Linked DNA regions of Homo sapiens: regions 1, 2 and 4 are each linked to region 3. The links are contacts of gene promoters, found by promoter capture Hi-C in human tissues and cell types (Jung and others, 2019). All regions are on one chromosome and are shown on one strand. The core of a region is centred on a gene start or on the middle of the fragment in contact, and the rest is flanking DNA. Distances in the headings are between cores, read along the strand shown. Region 1 holds the start of SEZ6L2 (seizure related 6 homolog like 2). Region 2 holds the start of SNORA30 (small nucleolar RNA, H/ACA box 30). Region 3 holds the start of ZNF771 (zinc finger protein 771). Region 4 overlaps ZNF629 (zinc finger protein 629).

The links. The method cuts DNA at HindIII sites, captures the fragments that hold promoters and counts their contacts. A contact is called where the count stands out against the background at its distance.
Region 1: a contact is called between the fragment with the promoter of SEZ6L2 here and the fragment with the promoter of ZNF771 in region 3, in 2 of the 25 tissues and cell types used here (IMR-90 fibroblasts and neural progenitor cells).
Region 2: a fragment that was not itself captured here is called in contact with the fragment with the promoter of ZNF771 in region 3 in 1 of the 25 tissues and cell types used here (spleen).
Region 4: a fragment that was not itself captured here is called in contact with the fragment with the promoter of ZNF771 in region 3 in 1 of the 25 tissues and cell types used here (adrenal gland).

Annotation. Positions count from the first base shown.
Region 1 is chr16:29,898,076-29,901,401 of GRCh38, reverse strand. It overlaps SEZ6L2 (seizure related 6 homolog like 2), which reads left to right and starts at 1,852. Exons shown (of 18, transcript NM_001243332.2): 1 at 1,852-2,461. The coding sequence starts at 2,383. It overlaps ASPHD1 (aspartate beta-hydroxylase domain containing 1), which reads right to left and starts at 914. Exons shown (of 3, transcript NM_181718.4): 1 at 1-914. The coding sequence starts at 430. RefSeq lists a silencer at 867-1,296 and an enhancer at 1,660-1,954. The HindIII fragment of the contact is 10,220 bases long and covers 1-3,326 here.
Region 2 is chr16:30,709,659-30,712,853 of GRCh38, reverse strand. SRCAP (Snf2 related CREBBP activator protein) reads right to left here. Exons shown (of 34, transcript NM_006662.3): 7 at 3,119-3,195; 8 at 2,726-3,003; 9 at 2,007-2,100; 10 at 1,766-1,855; 11 at 1,110-1,283; 12 at 697-1,019; 13 at 415-592; 14 at 39-175. It overlaps SNORA30 (small nucleolar RNA, H/ACA box 30), which reads right to left and starts at 2,317; the gene lies at 2,189-2,317. The HindIII fragment of the contact is 4,122 bases long and covers 1-3,195 here.
Region 3 is chr16:30,406,259-30,409,425 of GRCh38, reverse strand. ZNF771 (zinc finger protein 771) reads right to left here and starts at 1,820. Exons shown (of 3, transcript NM_001142305.2): 1 at 1,762-1,820; 2 at 1,232-1,381. The coding sequence starts at 1,372. RefSeq lists silencers at 1,685-1,894, 1,917-2,096. The HindIII fragment of the contact is 10,608 bases long and covers 1-3,167 here.
Region 4 is chr16:30,776,964-30,780,028 of GRCh38, reverse strand. It overlaps ZNF629 (zinc finger protein 629), which reads left to right. Exons shown (of 3, transcript NM_001080417.3): 3 at 1-1,573. Among named protein-coding and RNA genes, the nearest start is that of ZNF629, 8.7 kb to the left of the region's middle. The HindIII fragment of the contact is 5,594 bases long and covers 1-3,065 here.

The sequences.
Region 1 (3,326 bases), core at 603-3,102, 510 kb after region 3:
CTTCCGTCCTAGGTCCTTCCCCGGGATCCCCAGGACCCCCTGGGCTTGGCCCGCCGGCCTCCGAGCATCCCACAGGCCCACCACGAACACCCCCAGCTCGGCTCCCAGCCCCTAGGGCCTGCATGTCTTGGGAGCCCAGGCGGTAGCAGTACCAGAGGAACAGGGAAGTGAGGGCCCCGAAGAGCAAGGTGAGGGCCGAGGAGGCCAGGGGTAGTGGCCACGGGAGCATGATCAGGGAGGCCCTGGCCAAGAGGCCTGGGGCGTCCTCCGGACCCCAGTTCCCCTGTCCCCCCAGCTCCCCACCTGTCCCTTCCATGGCTGCCCCCTGGCTCCCCGCTGGACTGTTTCCCTTCCACATTCCACTCTGGGCTGTCTCTCTCTCCTTCCGCGGTCCTCTCTCCACGCTGAAGCTCCCTCTCCCCTCCTTCATGCACCTCCAACCCTCCTCTCTCCTTTCTCTCCCCTTTCTCTCTCCTTCTACCTCTTCTTCCTCCTCTCCCTCTGTCGCCTCCTCACCCTCTTCTTTCTCCTTCCAGCAGCCTCCTCTCTCTCGCTCTGCTTCTCTCTCCCACCTCAATCTCCCCCTTTCCTCCCCACCCCCGCTTTTCGCTCGCTCTCTCTCCCCGCTTCCTCCTAGCTCCCCTGGGCAGCGGTTCCTACCCTGCCTGGACCTGCAGTCCCGGGAACCCGCAGCCTGTCTTCCTCCGCGGCAGCTTCTTTCTCTCCGGCCTCACTGCTCTCTCCTTGCCCTCGCTCCTCACTAGCCCCGACCCTGCGGTCCTGCCTGGCTCTCGCTCCCTCTCTCCTACTCGCTCCTTCCTGGGCTCCCACTCACCCTGACGTCACTCCTTCCCGGAGCCCTCTCAGCTCAGCCACCCCCGAACCCTCCCAGTGGCACAGCAAATCAGCCGGGTGCCGGGGGAGGGGGGAGAGTTGTCGCTGGAGGTGCCTCCCCACCCCCCCCGCCCGGAAAGGGCGCCACGTGGGGCGCAGGGGCCACGGTGCCAGCCTCCAGCCGTCCCGCAATGCGAAAGAAGGGGCGGGTCGTATCGGGCGGGGCCTGAGGGGCGGGGCCTGAGGGGCGGGGCGAGCGCGGACTGACGGCTGGGCAGGCGCCCGGGACTGCGGGCAAGGATGCTGAGGCCAGTCCGTCGGGCGGCTGGTCCGTCGGTCGGTCGGCCTGTGACTCCCGCTGGCCCTAGGCAGCCCGGGAGCCCGCGAGCCTGGCAAACACCGAAAGCGGCCTCAGCCAATCGCGGGCGGCGTCGGGCCGGGCCCGCCCCGGCGGGGCGAGGGGAGCTGTCCGCGCGCCGCTGGTGCTGAAAAGGGCGCTCCGGAGGGAAAATCAGAGCCGAGGCCGCCTGTTAGCTGGCCGGGGTCAGGGTTTATGGAAGAGGAGGGGTCTGTCTCTCCTCCCCAAACCCCGGCCCGTCACCCACGAGACTTGTCACAATCGTGGAAGCTCTCTATTCCCCTGGAGGAGGGAGAGCCCATTCCACCCGAGCTACTGTAAAAGGGGAAGGGAAGCCCCTTGGGAGGTCTGAATGTGAACAGGGGGCATAATTGGGGGCCTAGCAGGCGCGAACCAAGCTATGCAGCCCCTCGGCACCCTGGGAAGAGGAGATTCAGATTCCAGATGTGCTGGAATGGCAGGCGGAGGGGGCTAATTACTGCTGGGACCAGAGAGTTTCCTTTGCCTCCCCTAGGGGCCGCGGGAGTGAGGATTACGGCCCTGGCTCGTATGATCCCTCCCTCCTCCATCTGCACTTCCTCCTCCTCCCTCCCCGTCAAATAAATCCCAGGCCCCTCCCTCCGCCCGTCCCCAGGATCTGACGTGGGCTCGATACCTTTCTCAGCTTCTCCCTCCCGCAGCTCCAGTGCCCGAGCTTCGGCTCTCCCAGTTCCCCAACCCACCCCTTCCCCTCCCCGACAAGCCCCGCTAGAGCCCAGTGGAGACCCCCTCGATCCTCGACCCCACCCTAAACCCCCAGAAGCTGTCTTTCTCCTCCCCAGTCCCCTAGCTTGGGGTCCAGACAGCCCAGTGGACCCAGGCGCCTGAGCAGGAGGGTAACCCAGGCCACCCGGCCCCTTCGGCCCTCTCGGCCCCACCCCCTGCAGCCGGAGCCGCGCCCCCTCCACCACAGAGCCGCGAGAAGAGGACAGAGGAGACTGAGCAAAGGGGGGTGGGCTCCAGGCGACCCCTAGCCCAATTCTGCCCCTCCATCCCAAGGGGCAGAGAAATTGTCTTTCTTTGCTGACTCCTACGAGGAAAAAAAAAAAAAAAAAAAAAACAATTAAAGGGAAAGATAAACGGAGACGGAGGAAAGGTGGCAGCCAGATTACTTAGAGAGGCACAGAGGAGAGAGATCGGGGTGAGTCGCCATGGGGACTCCCAGGGCCCAGCACCCGCCGCCTCCCCAGCTGCTGTTCCTAATTCTGCTGAGCTGTCCCTGGATCCAGGGTAAGGACATGAGACTGTGGGGGTGGGCCCCAGGAAGGCGTCCAGCGGGGTCCTCCACCCTCCTTTCTCTTAATATCCTGGGTCTTCCGAGCACATGGGGGAGGGGAGAGGCACAGCTGATGGGGAAGGGGCAAGCCAGAGCTTTCAGGCTTGAACCCGAAGCCCCTTAACCCTCAATATTGAGAAGGCAGAGAAATGAATGAGAGAAGCTTTTAGCAGTGTCTCAGGGGCTAGATCCAAGAAGGAGGGCTGGGAAAGTTGGGGGGATGTCTGCGGAGGCGGCAGAAGCATGGAGGGACCTGGGTGGGAGATGGAGGTGCTGAGAGAGATGCCAGGCGCTGTACACACAACTGTTCTTGGATGAATGGACAAAGACAGATGAGCAGAGGCAGGGCTCAAAGACCAGATTTTCAGTCCCCCACTCTGACCCCCAGCCAGACTCCAGGGAAGGAGGCAGAGACTGCAGAGGACCAGAGAGAGAGAGGGTGGGGGGGAGAGAGAGAGAGAGAGAGAGAGAAAAGACAGCCACACTGCAGAGACAGAAACCCAGAGAGAAAGCCAGGCACTGCGGAAGCAAGGGCTGGGAGGTGCGGCCAGATCCTCTGCAGAGCCCCAGGGTTGGGGGGAGATCACCACTGAGGTGAAAGGGAAGGCAGCACCGGCGACCCCTCTGCCTTGCTGGCGCTGTCCAGGGTCCATAAGAGCTAAGGTGTTCAATGAAGGCCCACACAGCCCAGGGAGAAGGGAGAGGGGAGGGGAGAGAAGAGGTGTGGGAGTGGGAGTATGAGGGCAGCTGGGAGCCCCTCCTCCGATCTTGGCCCTCAGTCGAGCCTGGGACCATCTGAGCCCCTGCAGGCCCAGCTGA
Region 2 (3,195 bases), core at 415-2,914, 300 kb before region 3:
CATCAATGGGAGGAAAGTGACCACATGAAACATCGAACCTGCCGCTTGAGCTTCCTCTCTTTCTGGGCTCCATAGTAAGTGAGGATTTTAAAGCTGGGGCACCACCGTTTCAACTCCATCTCCCAGTTCAACATCACGCTGGTGGGAACAATGATTAAATGGGGACCCCAGTTACCTGTTAGGCAAAAAAATCAGAGATGGTAAGGAAATGTAAATTCTGTGGTTCTGATTTCTCAGTTATAACCCTGGCCACCCTTTGGCCCTTCCTAGGAATCCTAGCACCTACACTGTCCTCTCTATACAGTTAATGACCGGAGTCAATAAAGCAAAAGTCAATGAAGCTGGAGTCATCACTGAACAAGCTCCCAGGGAGCTAGACTAGGGGGAACAAAAGAAGGGGCCTTGCCTACTTACCTTTCTCACAAGCCAAGTGGGCAAGCAGAGAGATGGTCTGGATGGTCTTCCCAAGCCCCATCTCATCAGCAAGAATGCCATTAAGCTTCTTCTCATACATGGTAACCAGCCAGTCTAGCCCAATGTGCTGGTACTCCCGGAGCTGGCCCCGCAGAAGCAGGGGAATGGGCGTCTTTACCTGTCAGAGAGGAAATATAGGTAACACAATGGAAATGAGGCATTTGTTGTGGGGACATGAGAAAGTCAAGACATGAGAAAGGAGAGGCCAGAACCTGGGGATACCTGGGTCGTGGCCAGCGTGTAACCCTTGGGCTGGAGACTTTCAGCTGCTGCAGCAATGTCAGTAATTTCTTTCTTTGGACCTAGAGTAGTGGGCCCTGGAGTAGGAGGCCCACTGCCTGCATCTGCCTCACTCTGCTCTTCATCCCTGGCAAGCAAGTACTCCACCCCAAAATCATCATCTTCCTCCTCTTCATCTGCTTGGCTCTGTGATTGGGCATCCTCAGACTCTTCAGACTCAGATTCCTCTGATGCTGAACTTCCACTTGTTTCTTCCTCCTCTGAATGTTCATCTTCCTCATCCTCACTCCGGTCCTCCACAGAGTCTAAAGGGTAAGACCAAGGCTTACTGCTCATCATACCTGCTCTTCCAATGGCCACCCTCCCCAGCTCCTGCTTCATGACCACATATTCACCTGACTGACTGCTACTATCCTCCTGAGGAGGCTCTTCCGCTTCCACGGGCCCCTCTGGTTCACAGTCAGAGCTATTAGCATCAACCTCATCTTCATCCTCATCTTCACTGCTCCCAGAGCCTGGGGCATAGGCTCCTGCATACTGCTGCAATAGCTCCTCCATGGAAAGCTCACCTGGAAGAGAAACAAAAAGCTTTTGGTTGCTCTGAGGGGAGGGAGAAGGGGAGGTCTGAGTAGTACCAGTTAATTTTACCTAGGTCTCTGTAGATACTGCTAGGCCCAGGTCTGAGGGGAGGCAAAAGAGCTTACTTTCAGCATCAGCTAGCAAAGCCAAGCCCCACAACCTGGGGGAAGTACCATGGGAATTGGGAAGAACATTATCAACCTGGTGAGCCTCTCAAGGTCCAGGTCAAATGCTGTCAGTATCTTCCTACATTAGCTCTTCCCTCCATTTCACTCCCACATCACCATTTAAACTTCTATCATAAGCACTCATCACTTTCTACTTATCATTACTGGTTTACAAGTCTGTCTTAGTCATTAGACATGGAATTCCTCCAGGGTGGATACAAAGTGCCTTATTCATCTCTTTATCCTTGGTACTGCACACCGCAGACACCAAGTGGATGCTTAGTAAAATGTCTGGTAAATGTCACCTTCTCGAGCCAACTCGCTCAGCTCCATGGCATGATCCACCTCCCCTTCCAACTGTTCCTCAGCTGCTATAGTATCCTCTTCATCCTCCGCTAGGAAAGAGACAGAAGCAAGATTAATAGGGATAGAGGCTAGAGGCACAGGACACAGTCCAAATGAAACAGATGAGAAAGCCTGAAAGGTTAGGTCCAGACAATTCATTCAAGGGGTAAGGGGCAATAGGACAAACCGAACAGCCCTGACCTTCCTCTTCGTTGGCAGTAAACTCTTCATCATCTTCATCTGGATGCCAAGGCTGTTTGTTGCGCTGTGTGACAGCAGAGGGTGGGGGCTTTATCTGTATGGCAAAAGATAAAAAAGGGAAGGGTCTAAGGTTACAGTAGCAGAAGAATGGCACAAACTTGAAAAAGGTGTCACAGGAGAATCACTGTCCCATTGAGTGACAGTTGCCACTGGTATAATCCCAGGGCAAGAATACAATCAAGGGTTTTCTCTCAGCACCAGCTACCAAATCCTGGCCCCACTGCCTGGGGAAGGAACTGTGAAAGTGCCAGGTAACAAATAAAGGCACCCAACACTTCCCCATGCACTTGAGACATATGGAGAAACAGAAAAGACTTAAGGGTACCATGCCAGCTTCCAACCTGTAAGCCAATAAGGGAACATTAGGGCATGTTCAGAGAAGTGGCAAGTAACGGTCAGAGGAAGTACTTTTTCAAGACCACACAGCAATTTAAAGAGGAAAGTGCAATACGCTCTTCCACTATAGCGCCAAAACCTGCCAATCACAAAATGCAACTTGCCCCAAACAGATTCTTCCCCAGTCATCCCCAAAGAGCCCAAATGTCCATTACTAGCAGAACTCCTAAAACTCATAACCAACCTCACAGCCCGGAACTCAGACCCTGAACCTCTCCCTCTGTTCCCCCTCTGAACCCTCCCTCTGCTCCTTCTGCCTATACCTCCAACACCTGAGGGGGCTCTTCTTCAGCACCTTCTTCAGGCCCATCTCGGGTGTCACTATCATGAGATGAGGGGGTTTGAGAGGGGCTGGAAGGCCCTTCCAACAGCTGAGGGGGAAGGGAACGGAGCAGCTCTTCCAGTGGCAATTCTCCCTCACGGCGAAGCAGCTCAATCTCACGCCTCTGGGCCTCTGCATCATTGCCTTCCTGTTGTTCTTCAACTTCAATCGTTTCCTCATCATCCTCTTCCTCATCCTCTTGGGGTTGAAAGTCCCCATCTATAGCAGGAGAACAAGGTCACAAAGTCCACGGGCCCTGCAAGCCACAGGGTGGGTTTTTCAGCTCTGGAAAGGGTACATGAGGAAGAGTAACAGGACCAAAGAGAACACACACCTTCATCATCCAGGCGAGAAGCAGGGGGTGGAGGACTGGAGGCAGCTGAGGAAGAGCCGAGGCAAGGGGAAGAGCCT
Region 3 (3,167 bases), core at 571-3,070:
AACCTTCAAATACCCTCAGAATAAAAGCCAGACTCCCTGTGTGGCCTGCCAACCACCCCCACTCATCCACACTACAGCATGACCGAACCACCCACCCTCACTGCTGCAGTGCACTACTCACTCGTCTGAGCCTCTATAAGGGCCATTTCTGGCTGGATACGGTGGCTCACACCTATAATCCCAGCACTTTGGGAGGCTGAGGTGGGAGGATCACCTGAACTCAGGAGTTTGAGACCAGTCTGGCCAACATGGCAAAACCCCAACTCTACTGAAAATACAAAAAATTAGCCGGGCGTGGTGGTGCATGCCTGTAATCCCAGCTTCTTGGGAGGCTGAGGTAGGAGAACCACTTGAACCCGGGAGGTGGAGGCTGCAGTGAGCCGAGATCACGCCACTGCACTCCAGCCTGGGCAACAGAGCGAAACTCTGTCTCAAAACAAAACAAAAAAAAATTAGCCAGGTGTAGTGGTGCATGCCTGTAGTCCCAGCTACTTGGGAGGCTGAGGTGGGAGGATCACCTGAGCCCAGGGAAGTCAAGGCTGCAGTGAGCTGTACTGCACTACAGCTTGGGTGACTGAATGAGACCCTGTCTCAAACAATAACAACAGTAATAATAAAAGAGCCATTTCCTCTGACTGGGTCCATCACCCCACTTCTGACCCCAGACTCCTACTAGTCTCACATAAGCCATCCTTTTACTTTGAGACCTGTGGCCAGTTACCAAACTGCCCTGGGCCTCAGTCTCCTCATCTGTAAAATGGAATAAATGCTACCGACATCATAGAATCGAGGTGCTTAGAACAGTGCCTGGCACATAGAAAATGCTAGGCAAGGGTTAGCTATTGTTACTGTTGCTGTTGAACTAACCTGACCTTTCCCCAACCTCTAAATCTGAGTTAAGTTCCCACTTCTAGGCTTCATCATCCCCCTGTACCTGCAGCCATCACACGGGATTCTAACTGTGTGGTTACCCTTCAGTCTAACATCAAGCTCCATGGGGGATCCAAGGACGGAGTTTAATCTCCTGCACCCAGCAGGAAGCCTGGGACAGTAGGCGTGACTTTTGTATGATGGAAGCCCAGGCAGTAGGGCAGAAGGATGGGCCAATCCTGAGGTTTTAGATCCGAGATTCTGGGAAAAGTAGGGGCAAGATCCCTGGCTTCTATCTGAGGGAGGCTGGGCCTGGACCAGGTTTGGGGACAGTGTGCCCCAGGGTGTGTGTGACACATACCTCCTTGTTGTCCATGGGGATCTTGAGTTTCACCACCTCATACTTCTCCTCACCCTCATCCTCCTCACCCTTCACCAGCAGCACCATCTCCTCCTGCATCTCTTCCTCCTCCTCTTCCTCTGCCTGCTGTTCGCCAGGCATCTTGGTGTCCTGAGGCGGGGAGCTGGATCAGAAGCTCAGGACCCGCCCCCCCCCACCCCCCCCCCCGCCCACCGTGGCCCTGGCCCAGCAAGGCAGTGCAGCCGTGGCTTCTCCCGCCCTGCCCTGGTCTCCGAATCTGGTCCTCTCCCGTCCACCCCAGCCCGGCCCCACGCTCTGGCACAGCCCCGGGACCAGCTCCGAGGGCTCGCGTTCACCCCACTCATCCCAGCATTCAAGGCCTTGAACAGTTCGAATCTCCAGCCCCCGCAAGTCGCCACCATCCTTGCGCTGAGTCACTCCCCAGGGCCCGGGTCGGCGACCTGGAGCTCTGGGGCACGGGCTGGAGGCGGGATCGGGGCGGAAACCCCGGGGAGGGGGTGCGCACTCACCAGCCGAAGGTTCGGCACTCGCGGTGCCCCAGGCCTGGGCGCCGGGCGGCTGGGCACTCAGCGAGGCCGCGGCTCCGGGGGCGGGGAGGGGGCGGGACCGCAGGGACGGCCGGTCATTGGTCCGAACATATAGCCCCACCCCCTGGGGCGGAGCCCGAAGGACCCAGGCGTCCGGCCCAAACGGCTCGGAGAGGGCGGCGAGCTCAGACTTGGCGTCCTCCGCAGTCCCCCGACTCCCAAGCACCTGGAGCCGCCCCAGCCCGGCGTTCAAGGTCCTTGCCGCCGAGTTCCAACCTAACCTCGCGGCCCGTCTCCTGGGGCCGGCTTGGAGGTCTCCGCTGCGCCCAGTGCCTCTGCTCCGCCCGAAATAGGCCACGTGCGCTCCCGCCCCGGCCTGGGCCTCTCCCTGGCGCCCCGCCTGGAGGGCGGACCCTGTTGCCTCCTCACTTCTTCCATTCCCTCTTTATCTCCTCTGCCGTCTTTTCTCCATCTTTCTCGGCTTCGCCTATTCCGCTGGCCTCTGGGATATCCTTGAATACATCCTAACCAATTCAACATCCACCCAAGCTACCGCTGTCGCGTCATGCGTGGGGTGCTTACCATGCGCCAGCGCTGTTCAGCGTCTTACATACCTGGTCTCATTTGATCCGCATAACGATGGGTCCTGATCCATTTTACAGATGAGCTCACTGAAGTTCAGGGAGGTAAACTGATTTGCCTAAGTTACACGATAAGGATGTCATAGCATCCCTGACAATCAGTAGCCTAGGTGAACAACAGCCCAAAGCTAAATCCAGTCCACAGGGGTACCTTGTTTGGCCCTTAGGGTATTTTTACTTTTAAAAAATCTTTTCGGACGGGCACGGCGGCTCACGCCTGTAATCCCAGCACTTTAGGAGGCCGAGGCGGGCGGATCACGAGGTCAGGAGATAGAGACCATCCTGGCTAACACGGTGAAACCCCGACTCTACTAAACAAAATACAAAAAATTAGCTGGGCGTGGTGGCGGGCACCTGTAGTGCCAGCTACTCGGGAGGCTGAGACAGGAGAATGGCGTGAACCCGGGAGGCGAGCTTGCAGTTAGCCGAGATCGCGCCACTGCGCTCCAGCCTGGGCGACAGAGCGAGACTCCGTCTCAAAAAAAAAAAAAAAAAAAAAAAAAAAAAATCGTTTCAAAGCCGGGCGCGGTGGCTCATGCCTGTAATCCCAGCACTTTGGGAGGCGGAGGCCGGTGGATCACTTGAGGTCAGGATTTCGAGACCAGCCTAACCAACATGGTGAAACCCCGTCTCTACTAAAAATACAAAAATTAGCCAAGCTTGGTGGTGCATGCCTGTAATCCCAGCTACTCGAGAGGCTGAGGCACGAGAATTGCTTGAACTGGGGAGGCAGTGGTTGCAGTGAGC
Region 4 (3,065 bases), core at 115-2,614, 370 kb before region 3:
CCTGGGCATATGTGGCTGGGGAGAGACTGTTGCCCTATGAGATGGTGGAAGACAGAAAACTCTTGAATGAAACATCTGTAACAAGACTCCCACTCCCTAATCCTGGAGACCCCTTCAAAAGGAGAGGACTCTGCTCAGCGCTGGGTCAGAAAGGAAGTGCTTGCCAACCCCAGTAATGCGCTGTCCTGGAGTAAGAGGACTGAGATGCCAGCTGTGGGGCCCGTCAGGAGTCACGTCTCAAGAGAGGGGTGACCCAGATTTTTGCAAAGCTGTGGAAGAGACCTCTAATTCCATGACCTAAAGTTTCACACAACCTTTATGCAAATCCTTCGCCATTTGTCTATCCTGGCCCCAGCAGGATGACCCTCACATTTAAAAGGATCAAAATCTCAAACATTGTGGGAGGAAAACGCCAGGCCTGCTGGGGAGAGGGAGAAGGCAGGCCTCAGGATTGTGCGGAGAACCATGTTGCCATCTGCATAACGCCCCAGCCTATCCAAGTGCCAGGAAGGGAAGCACTACTGAGGGGGGTGCTGCCTGTGGGTCTCTTCCTAACAGAACGCCAACGAAGGGGGTGCCCTGTAAGAATGAGAAGTCTGCCAAGTCTAAGGAGATGTCCCCCTCCCCAAGATGGTAGCAGAAACTGAAGTTGTAAAGACAAACCTCTCGCAAAGCCAGAAGCAGATGCTCTCAAAAACAGGCCTAAGGAATCTGTTCCCAGAAGAGGCCTGGGGAGCAGCTTTTGGGGCTCAGAGGCCAGTCTGGGGGGAGGCAGGCAGTGTGACTGAAGGCCGGCGCAGGCCTGTTTCGGACTAGGGTGTAGCATATTTAGTAGGATGCTCACATGTTGTAGGGATGGGTGAGGGCTAAGGGGCTTGGCTCTTGTACGGGATGGATGATGTGAGCGCACAGTTCGTAGGGTCAGGCGTCTTGCGGTAGGAAAGGGGCAGGGTTCGATACCTCTGGGGTGTGGCGTGTTCTCTCTTGCCCACCTCCCCAAGCTCCTTTAACCAGGAGCTTCCCTCCCAGAGTGAGCTACGTCTTGGGAGGATTGAAGCAGGGAGGTGGCAGTGGCTAGAGTTGCTCAGATCGGCTCAGATGAAGGCCCAGGGGTCAAAGCATTTGCTCACCACAACTGAGTCTGGAAGGCACTGTGCAGCCAAACCCTCTTGTCCAATCACATGCAGGCCCCAGGCCCCTCAGAAACGCCCTGGTGGAGGGAGGAGCCCAACAGATAGGGTCAGGGAGTCAGTGGGGAAAGCAGAGGGGAGAGCTTAGAGTGAAACTTGAAACTGCTATGGACATGGAGGTCAGATGGGAACTTGGAACTGGGCATGAATCCTGAATGGTGGGGAAACTTGAAGCCATCACAGCCAAGAGGTGGGGTTCCATGACCTGCCCTGAGGTCAGCAGCTCCCAGACTCCTTTGCCCTCACTAGGGAAGCCCCAGTCACCGGACTTGTCCCCATGGAGTGAAGAGAGGCCCCATTTTTGAGTGTTGTGTGTCCAAAACAGTGTTGTGTCACTGGTGGTCATGTTGCTTAGTTGAAGAGAATAAAGGGAATAAGATTTCCTGGGTGTTTCTTGTTTTTTCTTTCAGCCTAAAGTGAGCTGAAAGAGTGTGGCCTCACCTTAAGCCGGAGCCCAGGAGTGACTGCAAAAGCTCAGCCCAGCCCCAGGCCCACCCTTCACCCAGGGGCCCTAAAATCCCCATCCATTGCTGGCTTGTGGGAAGCTGAAGAGTTTATGAAGTTTTAAGCTGCAGTCCCTTGGTGCGGAAAGGGATAAATCTGATGAGATGGCAGCCAAGCTAAGCTGTTCTCATCGGTGCCTGGCCTTCCCACCAGCAGGACTGCAGAGTGGCCGCCTGGTGGCTCTGGCGCTGGCCAGCTCAGGCCCAGCTGTGCAGCCCCAGGGAGGCCTCTCTGACCACCATACCCGCAACCTGCCACAGGGAAGTTCTGAGGATCTAGTTTCAGAAGCTGGCATCCACCACTCCTGGTTCACTTGGGGACCCTGGGAGAGGTGGGTGGAGACCTGGCTTGTCATCACTGCCAGGATGTCAGCCCTTGTGCCCTCACTGTGTGGAGAGGCGAGGCTCAGAGAAGGGCAGCCAATTGCCCAAGATCCACAGCAAGTCCGTGAAGGAAACCAGAATGGCCAGGAACTCAAGCATGTTTTGTGCCCACTCCATCCCAATCTCAGGCCTGCCTCAGTGCTCAGTCTCCTGGGCCCTGGGCCTGGCCATGGGGGATTGGGGGAATCCTGCCCCAGCCAGAAAGTGTCTCCCCACCTTTCCTGTACCCCTCTGACCACAACCCAGGGCAGGTTCAGTGTCTCCTTCCCTTCCCCACCTGGAAAGGGGGGTGGGAGGAGAGGAGAAGCAAGTAATGAAGGCTACTCTACATTCTCTGTGTGCCAAGCCCTGGGGACACTGAGGTCTATCAGGAGTCCCAGTGCTGGAGAAATCTGCAGGAAAGTGACTACAGCAGAAGAGCAGACACAGGGCAGTGACTGCCTCAGAGATTTCGCAGAAGGGCTGTGGACCCAGAGATGGTGCCTGCCACAGTGGAGGGTCAGGAAGCTTTCCGGGGAAAGTGACCTGAAGGATGAGGGCTGCAAGAAGACCCAAGAGTAGGTGTATCGGCTGGGGGTGGGATGGAGGACAGGGGTGCATAACAGTTGGGTATGGGCTTAGAGCAGAGAGGGGACTATGGGAAGACAGAGGCAGAGAGCAGAGCCCACAGTGTGGAGCCCCTGGAGGAGCTCGGGGAAGGTACCACTTGGGGATATTTGAGAGTGACATGATCTCTCTTCTCTCCACAAGAACAGTGGTGATTCTCCAGGTCTGGAGCTCAGGAAAGAGGAGTGGCTGGAGCAGTTAGGTCCTTATCAGCTTAGCTATAGCCATAACCATGAATAAACACACACAAAGTGGCAAAGTAGAAGGTCTAGTTTAGGGGTGGAGGAAGAGGACCAGCAGAAGACAGTATGAGAAAAACCAGGACAGGACAGCGTAGCACCGTCGGATGCAAGGGAAGTTTTGAGAAGACAGCGGTCTACAT